4 separate regions of the Homo sapiens genome follow, and all the other regions are linked to region 3. The links are contacts of gene promoters, found by promoter capture Hi-C in blood cells and fetal thymus (Javierre and others, 2016). All regions are on one chromosome and are shown on one strand. The core of a region is centred on a gene start or on the middle of the fragment in contact, and the rest is flanking DNA. Distances in the headings are between cores, read along the strand shown.

Region 1 (3,511 bases), core at 999-3,498, 1.0 Mb before region 3:
TGATAGTAGAGGTATAAAATATTTCTGGAGTAATACATTGAAAAAATGAGGACTAATATCCTCCCTGTGGAGGGATACTGGAACAGAGACATGCTTTTCTTACTATACTTTGCACTTTCTGTACTGCATATAATTTTTAAAAAAGATTATGTATTTTGAAAACAAATTTAAGTATCTAATGAAATCAAAGTAACATAAATGACTGAACTAGCCATTTATACAGTCACAAAGTCTGCCTTGTAAGGTCTTAAAAAGAAGGATTAATGAAGAAGCTTATACATCCAATTAATTAAAAAAAAAAATCAATGAAGATACCAAAAAAGCTACTAAATCATTTATTTCTATTTACAGGGAAAAATAGGCAATAACTCTATTCTATAGTTTCTTTTGTAGGAATTAATGCTCCCATAAACTAAATAATATAATTTATAAGCAAAAGAAACACTTAATTCCTAGATATTAAACAATAACATGAATTCAGACAGCAAAACTATTCTTGAATAACAATACAAGCAAAAATCTCCTGACGATTCTTAATCCTTCCTTACCTTCAATCCTTTTTCATCTTTCATCCTTTGCTCTTTTCCATTTGGAACAACAATAAAAATAGGCCCGGATTTGTCTTCATCCTCCTTTAAGCTGGTTTTGCTTGGCATCTTCTTCCCTTGTGCACTCTACAACCAAGGTTCAGGGAATACTGATTAGCTTGGCCACTTCTCCTTAAGAATATGATGCTGCTGCCCAGTAAAAGGGCACTGTAGAAAACAGAGATATCTTTCTACGTGATATTTCACATGAAAAAAACATGCATCACAGAATCTTGTATATGTTTTTGAACAGGTTCTCTAGAAATTTTTCTGAGAATATTCTTAAGTAACTGTTGGTTAGTTCTTGGACTGGCATGTTATGTAGTTGGAAAAACTGCTATTACTGATCATTAGTCTAGGTCACAAACTTTTTGTTTTTGTTTTCTTGAAATCTTCAACACTATTTATAGCTTTCCATATTAATGACATCTTTTTTTTTTTTTTTTTTTTTTTGAGACGGAGTCTCACTCTGTCGCCCAGGCTGGAGTGCAGTGGCGTGATCTCAGCTCACTGCAATCTCCACCTCCTAGGTTCAAGTGATTCTCCTGACTCAGCCTCCTCAGTAGGTGGGACCAAAGGCGCCCACCACCACCCCTGGCTAATTTTTGTATTTTTAGTAGAGACAGGGTTTCACCATGTTGTCCAGGCTGGTCTCGAGCTCCTGACCTCAAGTGATCCACCCACCTCAGCCATTAATGACATCTTGAATGGCATTTACACATTTCCAAACACTTAGTTTGAAAGCTTTTCTGTTTCTTTCCATTGATATTTAAATGTATCTCTTATCATAACAGTGTAACTGAAGACCTTTTGAACTTGCTTCTAGAGAAAGTTACAAGAAATGCTTTAAATATTTAAGTCACTAAAGTGGTTTTAAAAAATAATCCAAGATTTAAAATCTTCATATCAGATAGAAAGAAAATAGTAAACAATAGTACACATATTTAAGGTAAAATTCAAATTTCATTACTGGAATCATTATTATTATAAATGTAGCATGGCCACTATTTCTAGTTGGCCACAATTTCTTTCTAGTATAAACACTAATGTCATTCAGACCAAACAAATATGAGATCATTTATATGAAACTGCTTCGTAAGTTTAAAAAGATTGGGAAAAAAATTATGGCATTAAGAACGGAGTCAAAAATACTGCAAAACACTCGTGATCTAAACTAAAATAAGCACTTGTTAAATTTGGGATGAGGACAGGCAGACAGGAAAAGAACAACGTCATTGGATAGTTGAAGATAATTACCCATTTAAATTAATTCACTGAGGAGTTAAAGGGCCTGAGCATAGGGAAGAAAAATGGTTAATTGTAATATTTAGAAGAAAGGCCCTAGAGTGTGTACTCCAAAATGGGGGTGTAATAATACATGTACTGGTTAAAAAACATTCTCTATATTTTTTCATCAATTACAGGAAGTAAATTAAATAATTCTCTATTTAGACTTACTATTAGATTCATTACCCATTGCACAGTTTTGCAATTTTCCTTTTGTAAGTGTTAAATAATTAACACTCTGAATATGTTTATTAATCTCAATCTTGATAGAGATAATGACAATTTACTGTGATTTTAAAACTTAATTAAATGAAAAAATCACCCAGAGGATAAAGTTGAACATTTGAACACACTGCTTTAAATTGTCCAACTCTCCATGAATATTGAAAGAATTGCTGATGCATCAAAATAAATCCCACTGGGACAAAAGATATTTCCCTGCAGACTAACCGAAACATCTTCTAATATGATGACAACAGTGCCAAATTTGAAGGAGGTTGATTTAACTTCCTTTTCTTAAATCCAAATCAGCCTAAAGTGTTTATTATGCCAGAGCTACAAATGCTTTCTCCTTTTTTTTTTTTTTCCTGAGTCTCGCTCTGTCATCCAGGCTGGAGTGCAATGGCGAGATATTGGCTCACTGCAACCTCCACCTCCTGGGTTCAAGCGATTCTCCTGCCTCAACTTCCCAAGTAGCTGGGATTACAGGTGTGCCACCATGCCCAACTAATTTTTGTATTTTTAGGAGAGACAGGGTTTCGCTATGTTGGCCAGGCTGGTCTCGAACTCCTGACCTCAGGTGATCCGCCTGCCTCGGCCTCCCAAAGTGCTGGGATTACAGGCGTGAGCCACTGTGCCCGGCCCTTTCTTCTTTCAATAAAGTAAATCTTTCCCCGAAAATCTACATGAAAGGAAGATGACAGCACCTCTTGAGAGCAGGATGTCTCCGTTTTAGGACCTTATTAAAAATGAACCACAGAAATTTGTATAAATAATTTGATAATATCAACAGCAGTGATGTTCTTTTATATATAATATGATCCTTCCTAATAGAATGACTCAGTATATAAAATATATTTAAAAGCAAGTCTACATCGAAGTATACAGAGTTAACATACCTTTGCTTTAGAGGATAATCCTGGAGCTTTGGCCTTTTTTGGATCAGGTTTGGGTTCTGTACTGCTGGAAATACAATCTTCAGCAGGTGCTTTGAGGAAAAAAATATATATATACTATAAACTTTAACTAATATCATTTTATTTTGGACAGGTTAAATATATAATGATGACAAGGAAGCTTGCAGTCTTAAATGTATCAATTTATAAGATGTTTTCAGTTAGTTTTTTTTTTATGAGACAGGATTTTGCTCTATCTCCCAGGCTGGAGTACAGTGGTGCCTTCACGGTGCTCACTGCAGTCCTGACCTCCTGGGCTCAATGAATTCTCCCACCTCAGCCTCCCTAGTAGCTGGGACTACAGGCCCGTGCCACCGCACCCAGCTAATTTTCTTTGTAATTTTTGTGGAGACAGGGTTTCGCCATGTTGCCCAGGCTGGTCTCAAACTCCTGGGCTCAAGCAATCCACCCACCTTGGCTTCCCAAAGTGCTGGGATTACAGGCGTGAGTCACTGTGCCTGG
Region 2 (3,161 bases), core at 614-3,113, 1.1 Mb before region 3:
TTGGCTCGCTGCAACCTCTGCCTCCCAGGTTCAAGCGATTCTCCTGCCTCAGCCTCCTGAGTAACTGGGATTACAGGTGCGTGCCACCACGCCCGGCTAATTTTTGTATTTTTAGCAGAGACTGGATTTCTCCATGTTGGTCAGGCTGGTCTCCAACTCCTGACCTCGTGATACACCCACCTTGGCCTCCCAAAGTGCTGGAATTACAGATGTGAGCCACCGCGCCCAGCCATATTTGTTTATTATTTTGAGTTGTTGATACTTTCTTTTTACATGAAGTCTGTAGTTTATAAAATGATGAATTTGTCTACTTCAGAGTTAGGGGGAAGAGTTATCGGTGTGTACTGGCAGCAGGCTGTGGATTCAGAACTGTGAAAGCTTCTCCCAATACTATTCAGTCTTGTTTCTACCTGTTTCTTGGGGTTTCAGTGTTTCTACACTAATTTTTAGGTTAATTTCTTGGGTTTTCATTTCCTTATGCATGTAGGTAGTTTGATTATGGATCTTACATTTATGTGCTCTTCTGACTTGTGCTTTTAATATTTTGGGAGCAACTTGCCCACCTCTCAACATTGCCATGATAGATGGCAAACCTCTTTGTGGCTTCTCCAGGCTTCTTTGAGCATCTGTGATCAAGGAAAGGAGCACTTGGCTGTTGGGCTTTATGCAGGGTACAGGGCTTTTACCTACCTATAAGGTTAAGGTCATATCTCCCAACCCTATTCTTACTCTCATGTGTTTGTCAAAAGGACCTAACCCTTGTCCCTCACAGGCCTCGGTTCCCTGGCATCAGATTTTCCTTACATCTATAGCTTTGATTGTACTCTTTATGGAATCTGGAATATCTACCATTTTTCTAGTTCAGCTGTGTGTCCGAACATTTTTATTGTCATTTTATCTACATCTTTATGTGTTTGTAGTGGGAGGGGGAACTGACAGCATCAGTTCAGTCCACCCTGTTGATGAAAGGCCACTTCAGAGATTTATTTATTTACATATATATATATATATATATATATATATATATATATATATATATATATATATTTATTTTAGAGATGGTATTTGCCCTGTTTCCCAGACTGGAGTGCGGTGAAGCAATCTTGGCTCACTGCAACCTCCACCTCCCAGGTTCAAGCGATTCTCCCGCCTCAGCCTCCCGTCTAGCTGGGACTACAGGCGCCCACTACCATGCCTGGCTAATTTTTTATATTTTTAGTAGAGACGGGGTTTCACCATGTTAGCCAAGATGGTCTCGATCTCCTGACCTCGTGATCCGCCTGCCTCGGTCTCCCAAAGTGCTGGGATTACAGGCGTGAGCCACCGCACCTGGCCAAGAATGCATTAAAATATTTTAAATAATTTTTTGTTGTTTAAAAGTGAAAAAAATATAAACAAGAAACTGATTCACTCCCTTACTTCATGCATTCATCATCTAAACCAAAAACAAAATTTTAAAGCAAGAACAAACTACTGCGGAAAGTTTTTGTAAGTCCATTTTCTCTGTACATTCAAACTGCTGACTACTGAAGGGAAAAAAATATAATCCATGGTGTCTGCTGAATCAAAGGGGAGAAACAAGGCTGTCATTTAGTATCCAAAAACTGATACACGTATGTTCTGCTTTTATAATGTGTATTTTTCTCTCTTCTGTTTTTCATATCCAAAACTTGTAAATGCTATTTTAGGGGCAAAGCAGATTAGATTCCAACACTTGTTGAACAGAATTCACAAGCTGTGACAAAACTCTGTCATCTTCGGGGTGCAATTTTGTTTATATACACTGTATGTATATATTTCTTTTAGATTTGGCTGTAGTGGACTGGCCGTGGTTCAAGTGCCACCTTCATTCTAAGGCAAGGATATGCTGTGATGAAATCTTGGAAGTACAGCTAGAGTCATCATTCTAGCTGTTTGAAAAAGTGTATTTGGGCCGGGTGCCGTGGCTCATGCCTGTAATCCCAGCACTTTGGGAGGCCAAGGCGGGCGGATCACGAGGTCGGGAGACCATCCGGGCTAACACGGTGAAACCCTGTCTCTACTAAAAATACAAAAAAAAAAAATTAGCCGTGTGTGGTGGCGGGCACCTGGGGTCCCAGCTATTCTGGAGGCTGAGGCAGGAGAATGGCACGAACCTGGGAGGTGGAGTTTGCAGTGAGCCGAGATTGTGCCACTGCACTCCAGTCTGGGCAACAGAGCAAGACCCCGTCTCAAAGAAAAGAAAAAGTGCATTTGAAGTACGTCCATAAAGAAAGAGACCTAATTTTAGAAGACATTTATGCTGGGTGAAAGTTTTTCTCCACTCTATTATGGACCATATGATGGCAACTAGTTTTGTTTTTTTGTTTTTGTTTTTGTTTTTTTGAGACAGAGTCTCACTCTGTCACCTATGCTGGAGTGCAGTGGCGCAGTCTTGGCTCACTGCAACCTCTGCCTCCCGGGTTCAAGCAGTTCTCCTGCCTCAGCCTCCCAAGTAGCTGGGATTACAGGTGTGCACCACCACACCCGGCTAATTTTTGTATTTTTAGTAGAAATGGGGTTTCACCATGTTGGCCAGGCTGGTCTCGAACTCCTGACCTCAGATGATCTGCCCGCCTTGGCCTCCCAAAGTGCTGGGATTACAGGCCTGAGCCACCGTGCCTGGCTGGCAACTAGTTTTTTTATTTGTTAATTTGATTTTTTTTAATTCAAATCTACAGAAAAGTTGGAAGAATATTACAGTGAATTTTTATGTACTCTTCCCTTAGATTTGCACATTGTTCACTCTTTACCACATTACTTTCTTTCTCCTATATATTGTATAACTATTATTTTTGCATTATATTTACACATTCTTATTCTTTTTTTTTTTTCTGAACCCTTCAGAGATGTTACTTATATCTCATGAATAAGAATGTGGACCAAAATGTAATTTTATCAAATTCAGGAATTTTTTTTTTTTTTGAGATGGAGTCTCGCTGTCACCCAGGCTGGAGTACAGTGGCGCAATCTCGGCTCCCTGCAACCTCCACCTCCTGGGTTCAAACGATTCTCCTGCCTCAGCCTCCTGAGTAGCTGGGACTACAGGCATGCGTCACCACACCTGGCTCATTTTTGTATTTTACTAGAGAAAGGGTTTCGCCATGTTGGCCAGGCTGGTCTCGAACTCTTGACCTCAAGTG
Region 3 (3,225 bases), core at 381-2,880:
GCTGAGGCAGAAGGATCGCTTGAACCCAGGAGGCAGAGGTTACTGCAGCCTGGGCCACAGAGGAAGACTCCATCTCAAAAAAAAGAAAGGACATTTCATTGACCCAAATAATTGGGAGATAATAAACACAGAGCTGGAATCTTTTTTTTTTTTTTTTTTTGAGACGGAGTTTCGCTCTTGTCGCCCAGGCTGGTCAAACTCCTGACCTCGAGTAATCCGCCTACCTCGGCCTCCCAAAGTGCTGGGATTACAGGCATGAGTCACCGTGCCCTGGAGTCTTTCATCTGCTTACAAACTTCAACATCAAGGGAAGACTCTTACCATGGTAAATAAAAATTATTAATACATCTGCATGGCCGGGCGCGATGGCTCTCGCCTGTAATGATCGCTTGAGCCCTGGAGTTCGAGACCAGCCCGGGAAACATGAACTCCGTCTCTACTGAAAATACAAAAATTAGCCGGGCATGGTGGCAGGGTCCTGTAGTCCCAGCTACCCAGGAGGCTAAGGCGGGAGGATCGCTTGAACCCGGGAGGTGGAGGTTGCAGTGAGCCCAAGATCGCGCCACTGCACTCCAGCCTGGGCGACAGATTGAGACATTGTCTCGAAAAAAACAAAACAAAACTCTTAAAAAGTTACATCTGCAATACTTACAAATACATACAAAAACAGTAAGTATTCTCCAGGCTATGATAGGACCTTTACAAGACACACCAAACACTGCTATTGCGGATTTTTTCCAATTAACGAACCAGCGTGATCTCTGAACATGTGAAACGGTCGCGGCTTCTCCGGCGCCTAGTCCTGGAGTCACTTTTAATCTAAGCACCACTCCAGTGAGAACCACACAAATACTTAGGAACCTACCAGCTCCATTTCTCCAGCAGTTCTGCTAGTGTGGGGATGCTTACTAGCTGGAATATTAAGAGCTTTTTCTAAACGTCTCTATCCCCGTTTCGACAAAACCGAAAGGAGGCAGATGACGTGTGGAAAGGCCTGGCCCACAGTCACAGGCCGCGCACGCGGAAACTCATCCTCACATCCACCCTCTGCGTTACCCAAAACCGACCCGGGGCGTTTGGGAGACTCAGGATGCCCGAACTTCGGTCATATTTCAAACGTTCCCGGGGCAAGCCCTGCACCACAGATGGCGCCTCGGGCTTGGCCCGGGCCGAGGGCGCAGAACTCGGCCTGGCCCTTCTGCGGCCCGGAGCCCAGGGCCGCCCCGCCTGCAGGCCCGCAGCAGGCAGGCCTCGGAAGCCGACCTCGCCCGCCTCCCTCGCCGGGTCTGGCCAGGCGCCGTGAGGAGCCTAGGCCGCAAGCCCTGAGCTCGAGTTCAGGTCCCCCCGCGCACCCTTGCCTTCTGAAGGCGAGTCGTCCGAGGCCGCGGCGGCAGTCACCGCGGTGGTGGTGGTCGTCGCCGCCGACGGGGCGGGCTGGCTGGGGACCGCCGCGGTTGAGTCCGGCTCAGTGTCGGGTTCCGGCTCCGGGTCCCGGCCCGGCGTGCTGCCCCGAGGACCCGGCGGAGAGAGTTGCAGGATGGGCCTACGGCCGGGTACCGCCCGGGACTTCTTCCCCATCGCGAGCCCAAGCGCGAGCAGAGAGCGTCGGGCGGCCGAGAGGGGCGGGCACTGGAGGCTGGGCGCTGGGCCCTGGGCGCTGCGACGCGTAATCAATATTCATACACCGTGACACCGCCTCCAGCCCGGATCCGCTTTCAACCAGCGGAGCACGCGCTTGCGCAAGCGCCTCGGACCCTTCGGCTCTTCTGGCTCCTCCTCACCAGGAGAAAGGGCGGGATTACCAACTGCGCTAGGCGATTGGCTGTTTTGACCCAGAGAAGGGACCGGTGGCCAATGGAAAAGGAAAAAGGGTGAGAGTCCAGCCAATAGTGCGGTAGGGCCTGAATTAGAACGACTTCCCCACTTCCGTCGGGTTCCACCCATGCGCTTTCCCCAAGCCTTTTCTTTGCCTACTTGTCCTCCATCTTGTGGCTATTCTCGGCCTAGAGTTTCATGTTGTCTGTCTTCTAGAAAGGTGTGCTGCTGGGCCCAGCTCACTCACGCCTGTAATCTCAACACTTTGGGAGGCCGAGGCGGGTGGATCACGAGGTCAGGAGTTCAAGACCAGCTTGTCCAAGATGGTGAAACCCCGTCTCTACTAAAAATACAAAAGATTTAGTCGGGCGCGGTGGCAGGCGCCTGTAATCCTAGCTAGTCGGGAGACTGAGGCAGGCGAATCGCATGAACCCGGCGGCAAAGGTTACAGTGAGCCGAGATCGCGCCACTGCACCCCACCCTGGGTGACAGAGTGAGACTGTCTCAAGAAAAAAAAGAAAGGTGTGCTGTTTTCTGAGCCCTTCCCCACGTTTCGCCCGGATTATTGTGGCTTACTTTGGGTATAGCATTGAACATTAAATGGGACAGTGGGTCTTTTACGCTTTTGTAATTTCCTGCAGCACACAAATAGATGTCTCATATTTTCTCGCTTATTAGCTGGGAAAAATCACGAGATACTCCACTACCTACAAGGAAAAAGCCTAAAATTGTTGGGATGGCATACAGGAACCTTACCAGTTTTGTACTACTATCGTCAACATGCTTTAATTTACCCTTGCTTTAACACTGCCCCCTCTCCCGTCTCCTGCCTCTGGAGCCCGCCACTTGGAGCATCACCTCCCTCACTTTTCCTTTGCACTGACTGGAATAATTACTGCATCACATGATGAAAGTCTTTTATTGTTTCATCAGGGCGCAATGCAGACGCAGTGCAGGCGTGACCTCTCCTGCCCAGCCTCTCCCTGGCACTTGACATCCTGTTGACATCCGTCTCCCCTCTAAACTAAGGAATGCGAGTGGTATTTATTTTTATATCCGCAGCAGCTCAGTTCCCACTAAAAATATCTAATACTTACTGAGCTCTATGTGTCAGTCACCAAGCACTTTACACGTAGAATTGCATTTGATCTTTTAAAATGATTATTTCTAATTTTATTTTTAAACGTGTCTTGCTCTGTCATCCAGGTTGGAGTAACGTGGCATGATTATAGCCCACTGCATCCTCAAACTCCTGGGCTAAAGCCATTTTTTTTTTGAGACGGTGTCTCGCTCTGTTGCCCAGGCTGGAGTGCAATGGCGCAATCTCGACTCACTGCAGCCTCTGCCCTCCGGGTCCAAGCAACTCTCCTGCCTCAGCCTCCCCAGTAGCTGAGATAATAGGCGCCCACC
Region 4 (3,018 bases), core at 498-2,997, 1.0 Mb before region 3:
AGGTTGAGGCTGCAGTGAGCCATGATCATGTCACTACACCTGCACTGCAGCCTGGGTGACAGTGAAACCCTGTTTATAAAAATCAGGGCTGGGCACGGTGGCTCAAGCCTGTAATCCCAGCACTTTGGGAGGCTGAGGTGGATGGATCACAAGGTCAGGAGATTGAGACCATCCTGGTGAACACGGTGAAACCCTGTCTCTACCAAAAATACAAAAAATTAGCCAGGCGTGGTGGTGGACGCCTGTAGTCCCAGCTACGTGGGAGGCTGAGGCAGGAGAATGGCATGAACCTGGGAGGTGGAGCTTGCAGTGAGACAAGATTGCACCACTGCACTCCAGCCTGGGCGACAGAGCGACTCTGTCTCAAAAAGAAGAAGAACCAACCATGCATACCAAAATCCACAGATGCTCAAATCTCTTATATAAAATGGCACAGTTTACATATAACCTATGCACATCCTCCCATATACTTCATTTTTAAAATTTATTTTTATCTTTTTGAGTTGGAATTTTGCTCATTGCCCAGGCTGGAGTGCAATGGTGCGATCTCGGCTCACTGCAATCTCCGCCTCTTAGGTTCAAGTGATTCTCCTGCCTCAGCCTCCCGAGTAGCTGGGATTACAGGTGCCCGCCACCACGCCTGGCTAGTTTTTGTATTTTTAGTAGAGATGGGGTTTCACCGTGTTGGTCAGGCTGGTCTCAAACTCCTGACCTCAGGTTATCCACCCATCGGGGCCTCCCAAAGTGTTGGGATTACAGACATGAGCCACCCTGCCCGGCCTTCCCATATACTTCAAATCATCTCTAGATGACTTACACCCAATAGAACGTAAATACTATGTAAATAGTTATACTGTATTATTTTAAAATTTGTATTATTTTTATTGTTTTCTTTCCCCACAAATATTTTCAATCTGCAGTTGGTTGAATCTGCAGATGCAAAACCCACAGATCTGGAAGGCCACCTGTATATTAAAAGGTGTATATAACGACATTACTTACCTCATACGGTTATGAGGATTAAATGAAAGAACTTACATGGTGCCTTAGCACAATGCCTAGTGCCTAGTAAGCTGTGAATCACTACCACTCGTATTCTCACTATTGCCTGGGAACTGGACCGGGCATTGGGCCTGTTGAAAGTTCCTCTGCCGCTTACCTCGTCCCTCTCTTGGGCCCTGGAAATAGCCCATCAGTGGGGTAGTTGCTTCCTGGAATGTTTCCTCACACAGCAGTTCCCAGCTGGAACAATTTATTTTTCCAAGAAATGGGACCTCTAAGTTATAAGAGTCATGGGCTGGGCATGGTGGCTCACGCCTGTAATCCCATCACTTTGGGAGGCTGAGGCTGGTGGATCACCTGAGGTCAGGAGTTGGAGACCAGCCTGGCCAACATGGTAAAATCCCGTCTCTACTAAAAATACAAAAACTAGCCGGGTGTGGTGGTGGGCACCTGTAATCCCAGCTTCTCAGCTGCTTGGGAGGCTGAGGCAGGAGAATTGGCTGAACTCAGGAGGCAGAGGTTGTAGTGAGGAGAGAGGCATGCCACTGCATGCCATCCAGCCTGAGCGACACAGCAAGAGTCCCTTGCAAAAAAAAGAATCATAGAACTTCAAAGATACCCTTTCAGAGCACATTCTTCACGGTTACTGTTGGCAGAGGTCACAGGTGTGGGATGGAGCATGGCTCCGTCTTGAGAAGTCTCATCCATGAGCTCAGGGAAAGAATGAAGATCAACGTCTGCCTCAGGCACAGGATAGTGGAGTGGAGCAGGGAAACCCTGTGGCTACAGTACCTGGCCTAGGATCTTCTAACGTGGTTTTCCACGGGAAGGGACCTGAGATAGGGATCTTTAGCACCCTCCTCATAACGTTTTTTTTTTTTTTTCTCATTTTTCAACACATCAGAAAACAAACAGGACAGAGTTCCTTGGCCTCATTCTTTGGTTCTGGTTGACTGAAAGGCAGTGAGCTTGCAGGATTTGGCAGCCCAGGGCATCAACTCGATCAAGGGGGAAGGGATTCAGAATTACTTGTGACATGCAGGACCTGCTTTTTAAACAAGAACACACATTCTCATAAGTCTGTTTTCTTCCGACATAGCGGTCAGTGTTGTAAGCTCTAGGGACTTGGGTTTTTCCAGTCAGCTGTGCTAATTCCAGACAGGAGTACAGCCACTCTTTTTTTTCCTCTTCTTTTGTTTCCCTCCTCTTTTTTGAGACAAGGTCTTGCTCTGTTGCCCAGGCTGGAGTGTAGTGGAGTGATCACGGCTCACTGCAGCCTTGACCTCCTGGGCTCAGGTGATCCTCCCACCTCAGCCTCCCAAGTAGCTGGGACTACAGGCTTGAGCCACTATACCCAGCTAATTTTTGTATTTTTTTGGTAGAGCCATGTTGCCCATGTTGGTCTTGAACTCCTGGGCTCAAGTGATTCACCCACCTTAGCCTCCCAAAATGCTACGGTTGTATGAGTGAGCCACCAGGCCCAGCCTTTGTAGCCATTCTTTCTAAATATGTCTTTCCACTATAGCAGCAAACGCCTCCATCATCCCTTCAGTGAACAAATACCCACTCCCATGTTCCCACTATAAAGGAGAGACAAGTTTAATTTCAGGAGGCTCCGGGGCCACCTGAAAACGATGACTGGAACCTTTACAGGATTAATCTTCCATCAATCTTTCATTTCTTGGACATCAATTGAATTGAAGGTGGGCTACAATAGGAAAGTTCCTTTGAACTTTATAACTGCCCAAAATCTCCTCCTGAATCCAGAACCTTTTCATCCTGAAGAGTTTTTCTGACTGTGGAGGGAGGTCCTGTGGAATTTATTCCAGAGGTGAATACTCAGCTCACTTTCTCATCCTTACTCTGACTGAATGTGAAGCAACTGTTAGCCTGGACCAAAAGAGACTCATACAACCAAGCAGCAAACCACTAAGATTTCCCAAACTCCATTAGTCAAATGAACACAAATCTAGTTGTAGTGTGAGAACCACTGAAGCCCAGCCAATCTCTGGGCGC

The links. The method cuts DNA at HindIII sites, captures the fragments that hold promoters and counts their contacts. A CHiCAGO score of 5 or more calls a contact.
Region 1: a fragment that was not itself captured here is called in contact with the fragment with the promoter of FNBP4 in region 3 in 3 of 17 cell types (erythroblasts, monocytes and fetal thymus); the score reaches 9.0 in erythroblasts.
Region 2: a fragment that was not itself captured here is called in contact with the fragment with the promoter of FNBP4 in region 3 in 1 of 17 cell types (naive CD8 T cells); the score reaches 5.4 in naive CD8 T cells.
Region 4: a fragment that was not itself captured here is called in contact with the fragment with the promoter of FNBP4 in region 3 in 1 of 17 cell types (M0 macrophages); the score reaches 5.4 in M0 macrophages.

The regions. Positions count from the first base shown.
Region 1 is chr11:46,764,583-46,768,093 of GRCh38, forward strand. It overlaps CKAP5 (cytoskeleton associated protein 5), which reads right to left. Exons shown (of 44, transcript NM_001008938.4): 27 at 2,993-3,081; 28 at 549-674. Among named protein-coding and RNA genes, the nearest start is that of SNORD67, 3.8 kb to the left of the region's middle. The HindIII fragment of the contact is 1,839 bases long and covers 1,330-3,168 here.
Region 2 is chr11:46,621,082-46,624,242 of GRCh38, forward strand. All of the region lies in intron 1 of ATG13 (autophagy related 13), which reads left to right. Among named protein-coding and RNA genes, the nearest start is that of ATG13, 5.1 kb to the left of the region's middle. The HindIII fragment of the contact is 2,974 bases long and covers 377-3,161 here.
Region 3 is chr11:47,765,711-47,768,935 of GRCh38, forward strand. It overlaps FNBP4 (formin binding protein 4), which reads right to left and starts at 1,631. Exons shown (of 17, transcript NM_015308.5): 1 at 1,359-1,631. The coding sequence starts at 1,578. RefSeq lists enhancers at 1-921, 716-775, 922-1,846 and a silencer at 1,036-1,645. The HindIII fragment of the contact is 14,946 bases long and covers 1-3,225 here.
Region 4 is chr11:46,740,190-46,743,207 of GRCh38, forward strand. It overlaps CKAP5 (cytoskeleton associated protein 5), which reads right to left. Exons shown (of 44, transcript NM_001008938.4): 44 at 2,859-3,018. Among named protein-coding and RNA genes, the nearest start is that of MIR5582, 11 kb to the right of the region's middle. The HindIII fragment of the contact is 5,631 bases long and covers 1-3,018 here.